3 separate regions of the Homo sapiens genome follow, and all the other regions are linked to region 3. The links are contacts of gene promoters, found by promoter capture Hi-C in human tissues and cell types (Jung and others, 2019). All regions are on one chromosome and are shown on one strand. Each heading gives the region's core, a stretch centred on a gene start or on the middle of the fragment in contact. The rest is flanking DNA. Distances are from core to core; before and after follow the strand shown. Region 1 has its middle 42 kb from the start of ZNF518A. Region 2 holds the start of LOC124902486 (a long non-coding RNA gene). Region 3 holds the start of DNTT (DNA nucleotidylexotransferase).

What was found. The method cuts DNA at HindIII sites, captures the fragments that hold promoters and counts their contacts. A contact is called where the count stands out against the background at its distance.
Region 1: a contact is called between a fragment that was not itself captured here and the fragment with the promoter of DNTT in region 3, in 2 of the 25 tissues and cell types used here (mesenchymal stem cells and spleen).
Region 2: a fragment that was not itself captured here is called in contact with the fragment with the promoter of DNTT in region 3 in 1 of the 25 tissues and cell types used here (liver).

The regions. Positions count from the first base shown.
Region 1 is chr10:96,170,323-96,174,481 of GRCh38, forward strand. It overlaps a transcript of ZNF518A not described here. Among named protein-coding and RNA genes, the nearest start is that of ZNF518A, 42 kb to the left of the region's middle. The HindIII fragment of the contact is 4,404 bases long and covers 1-4,159 here.
Region 2 is chr10:96,145,477-96,149,489 of GRCh38, forward strand. The region is part of intron 3 of ZNF518A (zinc finger protein 518A); the gene reads left to right. LOC124902486 (a long non-coding RNA gene) reads right to left here and starts at 3,313. Exons shown (of 2, transcript XR_007062254.1): 1 at 1-3,313. The HindIII fragment of the contact is 5,609 bases long and covers 1-4,013 here.
Region 3 is chr10:96,302,670-96,306,800 of GRCh38, forward strand. It overlaps DNTT (DNA nucleotidylexotransferase), which reads left to right and starts at 1,765. Exons shown (of 11, transcript NM_004088.4): 1 at 1,765-2,031. The coding sequence starts at 1,829. The HindIII fragment of the contact is 8,985 bases long and covers 1-4,131 here.

The DNA.
Region 1 (4,159 bases), core at 823-3,322, 130 kb before region 3:
ACTTTAGCTCTGGACCAACTCCAAGTTAGGCAAAATAAAGACAGGCCTTCTGAGCTGGACTTCCAGGGAGCCACCAGACAGGTCAGTATAAATAGTTAAGGTATTTTGTGATTGAAGACTGTTCTTCCTCTAGTACTGGGAATGAGGGCTGTTATTTACAGTGCTGTTGCTGAGGTGAGGAGTGGAGAATGAGACTAGAGTAACTTAAAATACCACAAAGCTGTTGTTCTGAGATTCAGCCATTTTTCTTGGGTAAGCACTTCCTGGGATGCTAAAAGCTTTTGATTAGTTTAAAAAGTTCCAAAAAAGTTGATTGTGACAGTTTGTTTGCCAGACTTTTAATTGCTTTTATGTTAGGGCAGAATTTCAAAGTCTTTGCTATTTTCACTGACACCACATTATAGATAAATTTAACTTCATCGAAATTTGAAAAATATTGCTTCAATGGATATCATCAAGAAAGTGAAAAGACAACCCACAGATTGGGAAGAAATGTTGTATATCATACATCTGATTATGCATTTTAATTTAGAATAATGAACCCTTACAACTTAGGAGACGTAACCCAATTTAAAGTGGGCAAAAGATCTGAATAGCATTTCTCTAAAGAAGATATACAAATGGCCAAAAAGCACATGAAAAGATGCGCAACATCATTAGTCATTAGGGAAATGAAAACCAAAACCATGTGAGATACCACTAAAAAAAAAAAAACCCAGATGATGAGGCCAGGAAGAGTTTGGAACCCTCATACACTGTTGGTGGGAATGCAAAATGGTACAGCCATCTTGGAAAACAGTATGGGACTTCCTCAATAGGTTACATGTAATGTTACCCTGTGGCCCAGAGCTGCTTCTCCTAAGTATATACCCCAAATAATTTAAAACAGGTGTTCACACAAAAATTTATACAAGGATGTTAATAGCAGTATTATTCATAGTGGCCTTAAAAGTGGAAACAACCCAAAGTCCATCAACTGATGAATGCATAAATAAATGTGTATATCTATACAATTGAATATTATTCAATCATAAAAATAAATGAGATAGTAATTTATGCTACAACTTGGATGAATGTTGGAAGCATTAGGTTAAGTGAAAGAAGCCAGTAACAAAACCATGAGTCCATTCATATGAAATGTCAAGAATAGGCACATTTACAAAGAATGAAAGTAGATTAGTAGTGGTTGCTTAAAGCTAAAGGTGTTTAAAGGAAATACAGAGGGGACTGCTAAAGGACAAGGAGTGATAAAAATGTTCTAAAATTGTGATTGTTGTGTAATTCTGGGAATTCACTAAGAAACCATTGAAGTGTACATTTTATATGTGTGAATTATATGGTATGCAAATGATAGTAAGCACACATAGACACATGTATAATGTGGGACACCATTAAGGGCAACATATGTGTAATGAAAAATTTTTTAAGTAGTCAAAGAAATAATGACTAGAAACTTCCCAAGTTTGGTGAAAAACATATTTTCAGAAGCTCAACATACTCCAAGTAGGATAAATGCAAAGAGATTCAAAAGTAGACATGTTATTGTCAGAATGTTGAAAGACAAAAAAAAAATCTTGAAATTATCATAAGAAAAATGATGCATGGAACCCCCAATAAGATTAATAGCTGACTTCTCCCCAAAACCAAGAAGGCTAAAGGGAAGTGGATAACATATTCAAAGTTTTGAAATAGAAACAAAACTGTCTTTCAAAATTGAAGGCAAAATGGATATTTCAAATAAGCAAAATGAGAATTCATTTGTTGCAAACCTACCTTTCAGTAAATACTAAAAGTTCTTAAGACTGAAAGCAAATGATGTCGAGAATAATTTGAATTCACAGGAAAAAAGAAAGACATTACATGAAAGTAAGTAAGTATAAAAGAGAATATAATTGCATCTTTATTTTCCTTTCTCTTAAAAGGCAATCAAATAAAACATTATGCATATAATTGTATTTTGGGGCCAATAGCAGAAATGTTATAACAACACAAGGAAAGTAGATGGGAATAAAGCTATTTTGCAGTAAGGAAATGACACCAGAGAGTATCTCAAATCCACGGGAAGAAGTGAAAAGAACCATAATAGTAAATAAGAAGGCTCATATGAAAAACTCTATAAATATATACTTGTTCTTTTTAAATTACCTTTAAAAGACACAAAATTATTAATAAGTATAACAGTTTATTCTTGGGTTTGTAACATGTAAACCTATTGTGTGTAACAATAAGGTGGGGGAGGGAACAGAGCCATATAGTAGTAAAGTTTTGATATTTCACTGGAATTAAGTTTGTATTTATCTGAAATAGATTCTGATAAAGATGTATATTGTAAGCCCTAGAGCAACCACTAAGAAAATTCCTCAAAAATAAAACATCATTAAAGGGATTAAAATTTATTTTAAAATAGCCAAAGAAAACAGTAAAGGAGAAACAAATTAACAAAAAAGGAATGAAACCTATAAAAAACAAAAGCACACTGGTAGACATAAATCCAACTATATTAATATAACATTAAATGTGAATGGATTAAACAGTCCAATCAAAAGGCAGAAATTTTCAGACTGGATAAATAAGATTCATGTGCAGTAAACTCTCCATATCTGTGCGTTCTACATCTGCAGATTCAATCAATCATGGATCAAAAATGTAGTTAGGCTTATGATGATTGTGTCTGAGCATGTACAGACTTTTTTTCTTATTCCCTAAACAATACAGTATAACAACTATTTAGATAGCATTTGCATTGTATTAGGTATTATAAGTAATCTGGAGATTAAAATATACAGGAGGATATTTGTAGGTTATGTGTGAATACTATGCCATTTTACATAAGGGATTTGAACATCCATAATTTTAGTTTCCACAAGAGCTTCTAGAACCAGTCCCCCATGGAGGCTAAGAGACAACTGTTTATATTATGGAAATTGGCAACAGGTACAAACCAGGGCTTTTTACAACCCCTGACCAAGAGAGCTGATTTCACCAGCACCCTCTGTGGAGATCACAGTTCTAGTTTTTGTCCCATGAATCTGAACAAATCATTCTGTCTACAGGAGCTACACTTTAGACTCAAAGATATTAGTAGGTTGAAATTTTAAAAATGGAAAAACATGTTGTCTCAGTCATTTTGGGCTGCCATAACAAAATACCATAGACTGAGGGGATGAAACAACAAGAATTTATTTTCAAAAAACATTATTAACTATAAAGAGGGAAATTTTATAACAGTAAAAGTGTCAACTCATCAGGAAGCTATAACAATTTTAAACATATATGCACCTAATAACAGAACCACAAAATCCATGAAGCAAAAACTGACAGAATTGAAGGGAGAAGTAGACAAGTAAAGAATGATAGTTGGACACTTTGATACTCCACTTTGCATAAATGAATAAAATAACAACAAAAGATTGGCAAGGAAATAGAAAACTTGAACAGCACTACAAACTAGATCTACTACATCTATGAAATCCACTCCAAAACAGGAGAATAGATATGCTTTTCCAAAGAACATGGAACATTCTCCAGGATATACCATATAAAACAAGTCTCAGTGAATTTGAGAGGATGGGAATGATACAAAGTGTGTTCTCCAACCACAATAGAATTAAATTAGAACTTAAAAACAAAGGAAATTTTGAAAATTCATAAATATATGGCAATTGAACAATACTCATAAATAATCAATGAATCAAGTAACAAACTTTCTTGAGGTTAATAAAAGAAAAAACATAACCCACCAAATCTTGTGAGATGTGACTAAAGCAGTGCTTAGAGGGAAATTTATATCTGTGAGTATATTTAAAAAATAAAAAAACTTACTGCAACAGAACTGTACACTTAAAAATGACTAAAATGGTAACTTTTATGTATACTTACCACAATAAACAAGAAGAAAGATTTCAAATTAATAGCATAACTTTATACTTTAAGGAACAAGAAAAAAAAGAGCAAAGTAAACCCAAAGCAAGTCAAAGGAAGAAAATCATAAAAATGAGATGGAAGGAAATTGCATTGAGAATAGAAAGACAATAGAGAACATAAAGGAAACCAAAATTTGGTTCTTATCAAAGGTCAACAAAATTGACAAGCTTTAGCTAGACTGGCCAAGAAAATAAGACTCAAATTACTAAAAACAGAATGAAAGAGTGGACAATAC
Region 2 (4,013 bases), core at 1,082-3,581, 160 kb before region 3:
TAAACCGACTAAAAACACTTCTCTTATAGCATGAATTTATATAGCATGAATGAAATTCAGTAACATAATTCATCATTCTCTTGAGTGTTTACCATTAACTTTGACGCTTGTGTTAAAGTGTTCTCTGCAGTGGTATGACTGGGTACGTGTGTGTTGATATGGAGAACACAGAATTGAATGATACCTGTATTGTTTTGATCTCTTCTTCACCTTTAGTGTCAACATTGATCTGTTTTATACTGGCAGCAAGTATATTATTTTGAGTTTAAGAAAAACTCAGTTGGTTTACCACAGAAATCACTTGCTTTGTTTGAGAATTTGCATCATGCCACTTTTTCATAAAGTTTCATAAAATTGCAGTCTAGAGACAAAAAGATTGCTGTTCTCACAAAGTCCAAATGTAAGGTGTTTGCTTGTGCTATCATAAGGTAGTATGCCAGTGTGGAGGCCATGGTGATCTAAGACAGCATTTTATGAAACACTGACCTAAGAGTAACCAGTGATCACTAGGAACATTTTTGTATGTGTATTCTTCTTGACTTTTAACTTTTGACGCATTTGTTTATCCATTTTCTATCCATCTATCAGTATTTGAACAAATTAAACTCTATATGTCTACTGTTTATTTTTTTTTCACTTAAGGTATGTTAGATATCATTGTGTTAATAAATGTGAGTTTACAGTATTGGTTTTTAAATTGCATAATATTCCCTTACAATACTGTAATTGATTTAATCATCATTTATTGGTGGACACTTATTTTTAATTTTGTGATTTTATAAACGATGGCACAAATAATATTTCTGATTATTAGCTTTAGGATGCATTTCTAGAAGTGAATCAGAAGTTGTATGCCTTTTCTCCAGACTCTTTATGTATGTATTGCAAACTGTTCTTTATAAAGGTCATGCCAGCTTTTATCTCCATCATTAGTATATTACTGTGCCTTTTTTTCCTCACTGACCAACACTAGGTATTAGAAATATGTAACATCTTTTGCAATCTGATTAGCAGAAGTTTTCTTGTTTTTATTTGTTTTGAATTCTAGTGAAGTTGGGCATGTTTTCACTTATATTCCTCTGTGACTTTCTTCTTTGGGTCTTTTGCCTAGTTTGTAACTTGTTTTTATTTTTATTATGAAATGTGTTTATGGACAAAATGCACACTATGTATGTGGTTTAAAGATAAAACAAATATCTGCATACCAACTATTTAAGAAACAGAAGCTCCTTTCCTCTACCCTCATTGTGTTCTCTCTGGTCATATCCTCCTCTCTGCTCCTAACAAATATGAAACTACCATTCTGACTTTTGGTATTTTGGTGACTATAAACACCAAATTGTTTAGTTTTGAAAATTTGGTAGCAAGCCTAAATCTGGCTATACAGTGAAAAGGTAACAGTGCCACTAGTAGATGAAGGCTCCCAGGAGAAGTTAAGGTAACAGCATACCTGGATCATAGTCTGGTTTTAGCTTCTCTGGAGTTTATCAGAGCCACTTTTGGGGAAGTCTAGGTAAATCATGAGTGAATCCTAGCAACCTTAGGGCCCACTGTAAGCAGAGAATCTGGCAGGCTCAGAGTATAGACCAGATAGTGGATGTCTGAGAGAGGCTACTCTGTAATTTTGGTTTCTAAGCTCACCATGCAGTTGATCTGGATATAAAGGTATGGAGGGAAAAGCAGGAACATCATGAGTTTATGTCAATACAAGCCAAATACAGATGAGAATCTGGGCCAGGCTTACCTGGGGATTCTGTCCAATGGTTGAAAAGACGGTACAGTGTCAGTGACGTTTTTGGTGATGGAAGTCCTCAGTGTGTCTTTTGATGTCAAAGATGTCTTGTCTTTGGACTGACAGGAGCATGTGATCTGTGGTCCAACTGTTTGTTATCCTGGTATTTCCCTTTACTGTCATCTTGGGGATATTATTTACTTCTCTCTCCTCCATTTGATCTCCCAATGCATATTATGTCATGTCTTTCTCTCTCTCTGTTTATTCTTTCATTTTGCTGGAGTATATCTTATAGTAACAACTTGGGGAAGGATGTCTGGCAGGTAAATTTTGAGATTTTGCATGTCTTCATTTTACCCTTATACCTAGACCCTTGGCAAAATGTAGAATTCTCGGTTGAAAGCTTTATGCCAGAATTCGAAGGTATTGCCCCTTTGTCTTTGTCCATCTGTTACTGTTGCTGAGAAATCTAAAGTCATTTGATTTCTAATCCTTTGTTTTCTGACCTTTTTTGTTTCTATTTAGAAACTGGATTTTGTCTCTACTGTTAGGAATCTTTGCAATGATATGCCTGCGTACCTTACACTGAGCACTTGGTGGACATTATCATCCTGGAAACTGATTTCCTACAGCTCAGTACTTTAAAAAGTTATTTTATTGATGATTTCCTTCCCCTTTGTACTCTCTTCCTGCCCTCCTGTTAGTCAAATGTTAGACCTCCTAGATTGCTCTTCTTTCTTACCTTGTTTCTCCTATTTTTCATCTCTGTGTTTTGTTTTTTTCTGAGAGGTTATTTCACCTTTACCTTATAGCCCTTCTGTTGCCCCTTTTTGGTTATGTTTTCTTATTTCTTAGAGTTCTTTTTGTTCTTTTGATGTTCCCTTTTTGTGGCATCCTGTTCTTATTTCTTATATCCCTAGAAATCAATGAGTTTTAAATGTTTTGTCTTGGCCGGGCGCGGTGGCTCACGCCTGTAATCCCAGCACTTTGGGAGGCCGAGGTGGGTGGATCACCTGAGGTTGGGAGTTCGATAACCAGCCTGACCAACACGGAGAAACCATGTCTCTACTAAAAATACAAAATTAGCCTGGTGTGGTGGCACATGCCTATAATCCCAGCTACTAGGGAGGCTGAGGCAGGAGAATCGCTTGAACCTGGGAGGTGGAGGTTGTGGTGAGCTGAGATCGTGCCATTGCACTCCAGCCTGGGCAACAAGAGTGGAACTCTGTCTCAAAAAAAAAAATGTTTTGTCTTAGTACATAGTCTCAGTTTCTAACAAATTACTTTTTTTGATTTAATTGGTCTGGATCTTGAACTAATATTAGAGGGTTTTCTCAGACTGTCCAGTAATCCTCTGGCCTGTCTGCTTGTGTCTCAGAAGCTCATGGAAAGCCCCTGTCTGAACCCACAGAAGGGCTTGTAACACAAGGTTTTGACTCCCACTGTGGGGAGCTCTTTGGGCTGGGCCAGGCACCAGAATCTGGCCCAGTGCTTCTCCAACTAGTGAAGCTCCAGAATTTTTTTTGAGACGGAGTCTCGCCCTGTCGCCCAGGCTGGAGTGCAGTGGCATGGTCTCGGCTCACTGCAAGCTCTGCCTCCCAGGTTCACACCATTCTCCTGCCTCAGCCTCCCGAGTAGCTGGGACTACAGGCGCCCACCACCACACCCGGCTAATTTTTTGTATTTTTAGTAAAGACGGGGTTTCACCATGTTAGCCAGGATGGTCTTGATCTCCTGACCTGGTGATCTGCCCGCCTCGGCCTCCCAGAGTGCTGGGATTACAGGCGTGAGCCACCGTGCCTGGCCTGATTTTTTTTTTCTTTTACCTCAATCTGTTACAGCTGATAATTTTAAAGCATAATAAAAATAAATTGCCAGAATAATGAAATTTTAAAAATGAAGACATACAAAACATAAGTACATGTTTTTATTATTAGATTCAACAGATAAGTCTAACTCTGAAAAGTTTATAAATGTTTATTTTCGGTTTTGGTACTTACCTTGTCATGGACTGGTGATAGATGGCTTATGGGCCATCAGCAGACCATAGTTTAAGGAGCATTGCTGTCGCCTAGGAGCCAACTTAGAAGCAGAAAAAAAGGGGATATGAGGTGAGGGTTTGTGTCTCATGTATATGGTCGTTTAATCCTCTTGGTTTTGGCATAGTGCCTACTCTCTCCCCTGTGCCTGGTCTCCCCTAAAACAAAGATTCGTTTTACCCACTGTAGAGAGTAAGCCTCTAGACTTCTGTAGTGGGGAAACAACAGTAACCAATAGCATG
Region 3 (4,131 bases), core at 515-3,014:
AATTCCCTTCTGTTACAGCTCAATAAACAGTTATCCAGCATCTGTTTGAATACTTTTCATGACTTGTAACACACAACTGTATAAAGCTGCTCTCTGTATATTTTTAGACAGCTGAGTTACTAAACAGGTCTTACTTGCGGAGAACTGGAATCTATTACTCTACAATTTCCACCTGAAGATTTCTGATTTTGCTTTCTTGAGCAACACAGAGTGCTTTACCCATGCCTTAAGGCAGCTGTCACATGACTCTTCCCCTAATACGGTTGTGAGGTGCTCACGTGTTTTGGAGATAGCAAAAGTCTCAAATAATATGGCACAGACGGCCAGCCATGGTGGCTCACACCTGTAATCCCAGCACTCTGAGAGGCCGAGGTGGGCCGATCACCTGAGGTCAGGAGTTCAAGACCAGCCTGACCAACATGGTGAAACCCCATCTCTACTAAAAATACAAAAATTAGCCAGGCGTGGTGGCGTGCGCCTGTAATCCCAGCTATTCAGGAGGCTGAGGTAGCAGGATCGCTTGAACCCAGGAGGTGGAGGTTGCAGTGAGCTGAGATTGTGTCACTGCACTCTAGCCTGGGCAATAAGAGCGAAACTCCATCTCCAAAAAAAAAAAAAAGGACAAAGGGTGAGCAGAGCTCAGATTGGTTATTGGAGAAGACAATACAGAGGAAGGCTCCTTGGTGGTTAAGAGTAGTCTTTTAAAATCAGACAGATCTGAGTCCAAATCCTAGCTCAATCATTTCTCAGTTGTGAAAATTCAGTAGCTCTGTGACCTTGGGCAAATTGTTTAGCCAAATGAGAAAGGTAGGACCACCTGACAGTGGTATTGTGAGGATCCTGTCAGCTAAGGCTGGTAGGTGCTTGCCTTGGCCGTGTAGTAGCTGCTCAGGAAATGAGATCTATAGAGTGTATTGGTGAAAGACAAATTTAATTTTGCACATAAAGTTATGAAAATGTCTCCTTATGGCAGTGGTTATCATCTAAAAGTCATACCATCCCACTGAAGAAGACCTATTTTAGGGTTTATAACAGACTACTCTCTGGACAACCTTAATCCACTTAAAAAACTAATATATGCATACAGCATTTGGAATCCAAAGAACTGAATTCAAGATATGGCTTGGCCCCTTATTCTGTGATCTTGAATAACTGAGCCTTGGTTCTCTTGCTTATAAAATGTACCTATGTAAGTGAACAGGTGGTAATACCCACCATGAAATACTATGGAGCAGTTAGAAGCAACAGAGCAATTAGAATACGGATCTGGAAAACATAGTTCCAAGTGAAATAAAAAGGTGATTGGCAAAATGAGAAATGTAACAATGCCATTTATGTAAAGTCAAAACAACCACAAGCAGAATATAACACCCATGCAAATAACAGACATCCAGTACAGTGTAATGATTGTCTACAAAAGGAGGAGAATGCAAGTGAGTTGGGAGGTTTAAAGGGGATCAATAAATAAAGACCACAGAAGGGCCTCAGTACATTTAGAAATAAATAACATGCAAACAATGATGCTTCCCTACCTTCCTCACGAGGTTACTCTGAGGAGCTAATGAGATTGTGCGTATGAAAACAAAAGTTAATTGACTGTCTTCATTATGATCTCCATATTGGACAAATGAACTGAACAGAGATAAAAATTCCCCATCACACTTTGGCAGGAAGCTGTTGCCAGGGCAGCACCTGTGAAGCCCTGGCCTGGCTTCAGAGTCTGCTGGTGAGATGACATCAAAACCCTTCGTGTAGGAGGGTGGCAGTCTCCCTCCCTTCTGGAGACACCACCAGATGGGCCAGCCAGAGGCAGCAGCAGCCTCTTCCCATGGATCCACCACGAGCGTCCCACTTGAGCCCTCGGAAGAAGAGACCCCGGCAGACGGGTGCCTTGATGGCCTCCTCTCCTCAAGACATCAAATTTCAAGATTTGGTCGTCTTCATTTTGGAGAAGAAAATGGGAACCACCCGCAGAGCGTTCCTCATGGAGCTGGCCCGCAGGAAAGGGTTCAGGGTTGAAAATGAGCTCAGGTAGGACAGCATCGATCTTGCTTTGTAAATAAGCAGAGGCTTTGTGAACAGCTTCTTGGGAACCCAAGGAACCTGTGTTTTCTTCCACATGTGGAAGAGGTGATCTTCCCACTGGGAGAACAGCAGATTTGAAATCAAAGAACAACTAGTTAAGGAAAACGAGATAAGTGGGGACTGAATACAATTATATTGAAACTAGTTGACACCAAAAGATGAGATAAATTTTTTGTTTTTTGCTTTTCACTCCTATGAGATGTGTTATTTAGGGATGATAAGCAGAACACTAATTGGAAAATTTAATGCTGAACCACTCAATTCTATTCTTGACCAATTTGAACAAAGTATCACTGGGTTCAACAAAAAAGTTTTGGCTACTTTGATGCAGAAAGATGATTTGGTTGCTTGGTTCTTACCTATACATCTGGGCGTGCTAAGGCAGCTAGCATCTGTGGTGGGCGAGGATGACTAGCCAGCTTACCACAGGCACCCAGATGTGGCCTTGACCACATTTTTCCAAAGAGTGGTCCTAGTGGGGTTCTTAGAAAGAGAGATGCTAGGTAAAGATGTATTCACTGTTAAGACAGCTCTGTCCAGGGATGACAGACATCACACTGAGTGAGATGTAATCAGAGCCCAGGCAAGGAGGCGATAGAAGCATTTGGACCACCTAGATTGGTTCACTCACTAATCCACTCACCTTGAACAGCAATTATTCTTGTTGTTTTTCTAACTTCTGTGTAAGCTCTTCACTGATCTCAAATAGATGAAGAGAAAACAAGCAAAATCCAGAAACAAATGGTATTAGAACCTTGACATAAGTGATGGTTCTGGATTAAACTGTTAAGGGGCTTGCAATGAAGGAGTAATGATTTATGCAGTTGACCGCTTTGACTGTGCAAGAAATAAATTGACCACAAATTTTCAGGCAAAACTATAAAAATTTTATGTGAAAGGACATTTTGATTGTATAAATAGTCTTTGATATTTGAAAATAAAACTGACAAGCATGTCATGCAGAAGAAATGTCAGCTTCCAAGTGTTGAGGAGACATATTTCAAAAGTCAATTTTCAGATATGTTAATGTTCGCAACACCCTGATTCATATGACATTGACTTTTCATTCATTTTTTGCTAAAATGCCCCATTCAGAAATTCCTGAATTTCCTATGGCCCTTCTTCCACCTGATTTCTCTTTGCAAGGTCTCCTTTTCTCTCTTGCTGCCTCTCTGTAACCTCCTACAGCCACTCTGAATCTCATTTTCTAACATCCTTTCCAAGAAAATCCTAGATTTCATCTAACTGTTAAGCCTGCCTGATATTACAGACTTACATAGAAGGCTAGAGTTGGAGAAGACAGGAAGATTATATAGGTAAAGAAGCCAAAAAAATAGATTTTTTTTTTTTTTTTTTTGAGACAGAGTCTTGCTCTGTTGCCCGGGTTGGAGTGCAGTGGCACAATCTCGGCTCACTGCAACCTCCGCCTCCCAGGTGCAAGTGATTCTCCTGCCTCAGCCTCCCAAGTAGCTGGGACTACGGACACGCGCCACCACAATCAGCTAATTTTTGTGTTTTTAGTAGAGACGGGGTTTCACTATGTTGACCAGGATGGTCTCTATCTCCTGACTTTGTAATCCGCCTGCCTTGGCCTCCCAAAGTGCTGGGATTACAGGCATGAGCCACCACGTCTGGCCAAAAATAGATTTTTTGGAAAAGAAATTAAAAGCCTTAGCAAATATGGAACTGCTTTTCATGGTAAAGAAATTTGACAAGGGTTAGGCAGGAAGGAAAGAACCAGAAGCACCACTTACTGGAAAGCTCTCCATTGAAACGTCCAAGCTTCCAGCAAGGACCCGCTGATTTATTATAGACACAGCAATGAATACATACAAGGCGGCTGAGGCAGGCACTCAGGGAGATGATGGGAGGTAAGTTTCTTCTGTTGGCAGGACAGCTGAAGAGGCAGCTACATGCCCCAGATGCCTGCTGCCAGGGACCAAGCCCAGCTGCTCAGGCGGCGGAGGAAGCTCACTGGTGCATGGTGAGCAAACTGCCGCTGTGCATGTGATGATGGCAAAGTTCCCAGGCTGGTAGCTCAGAAGA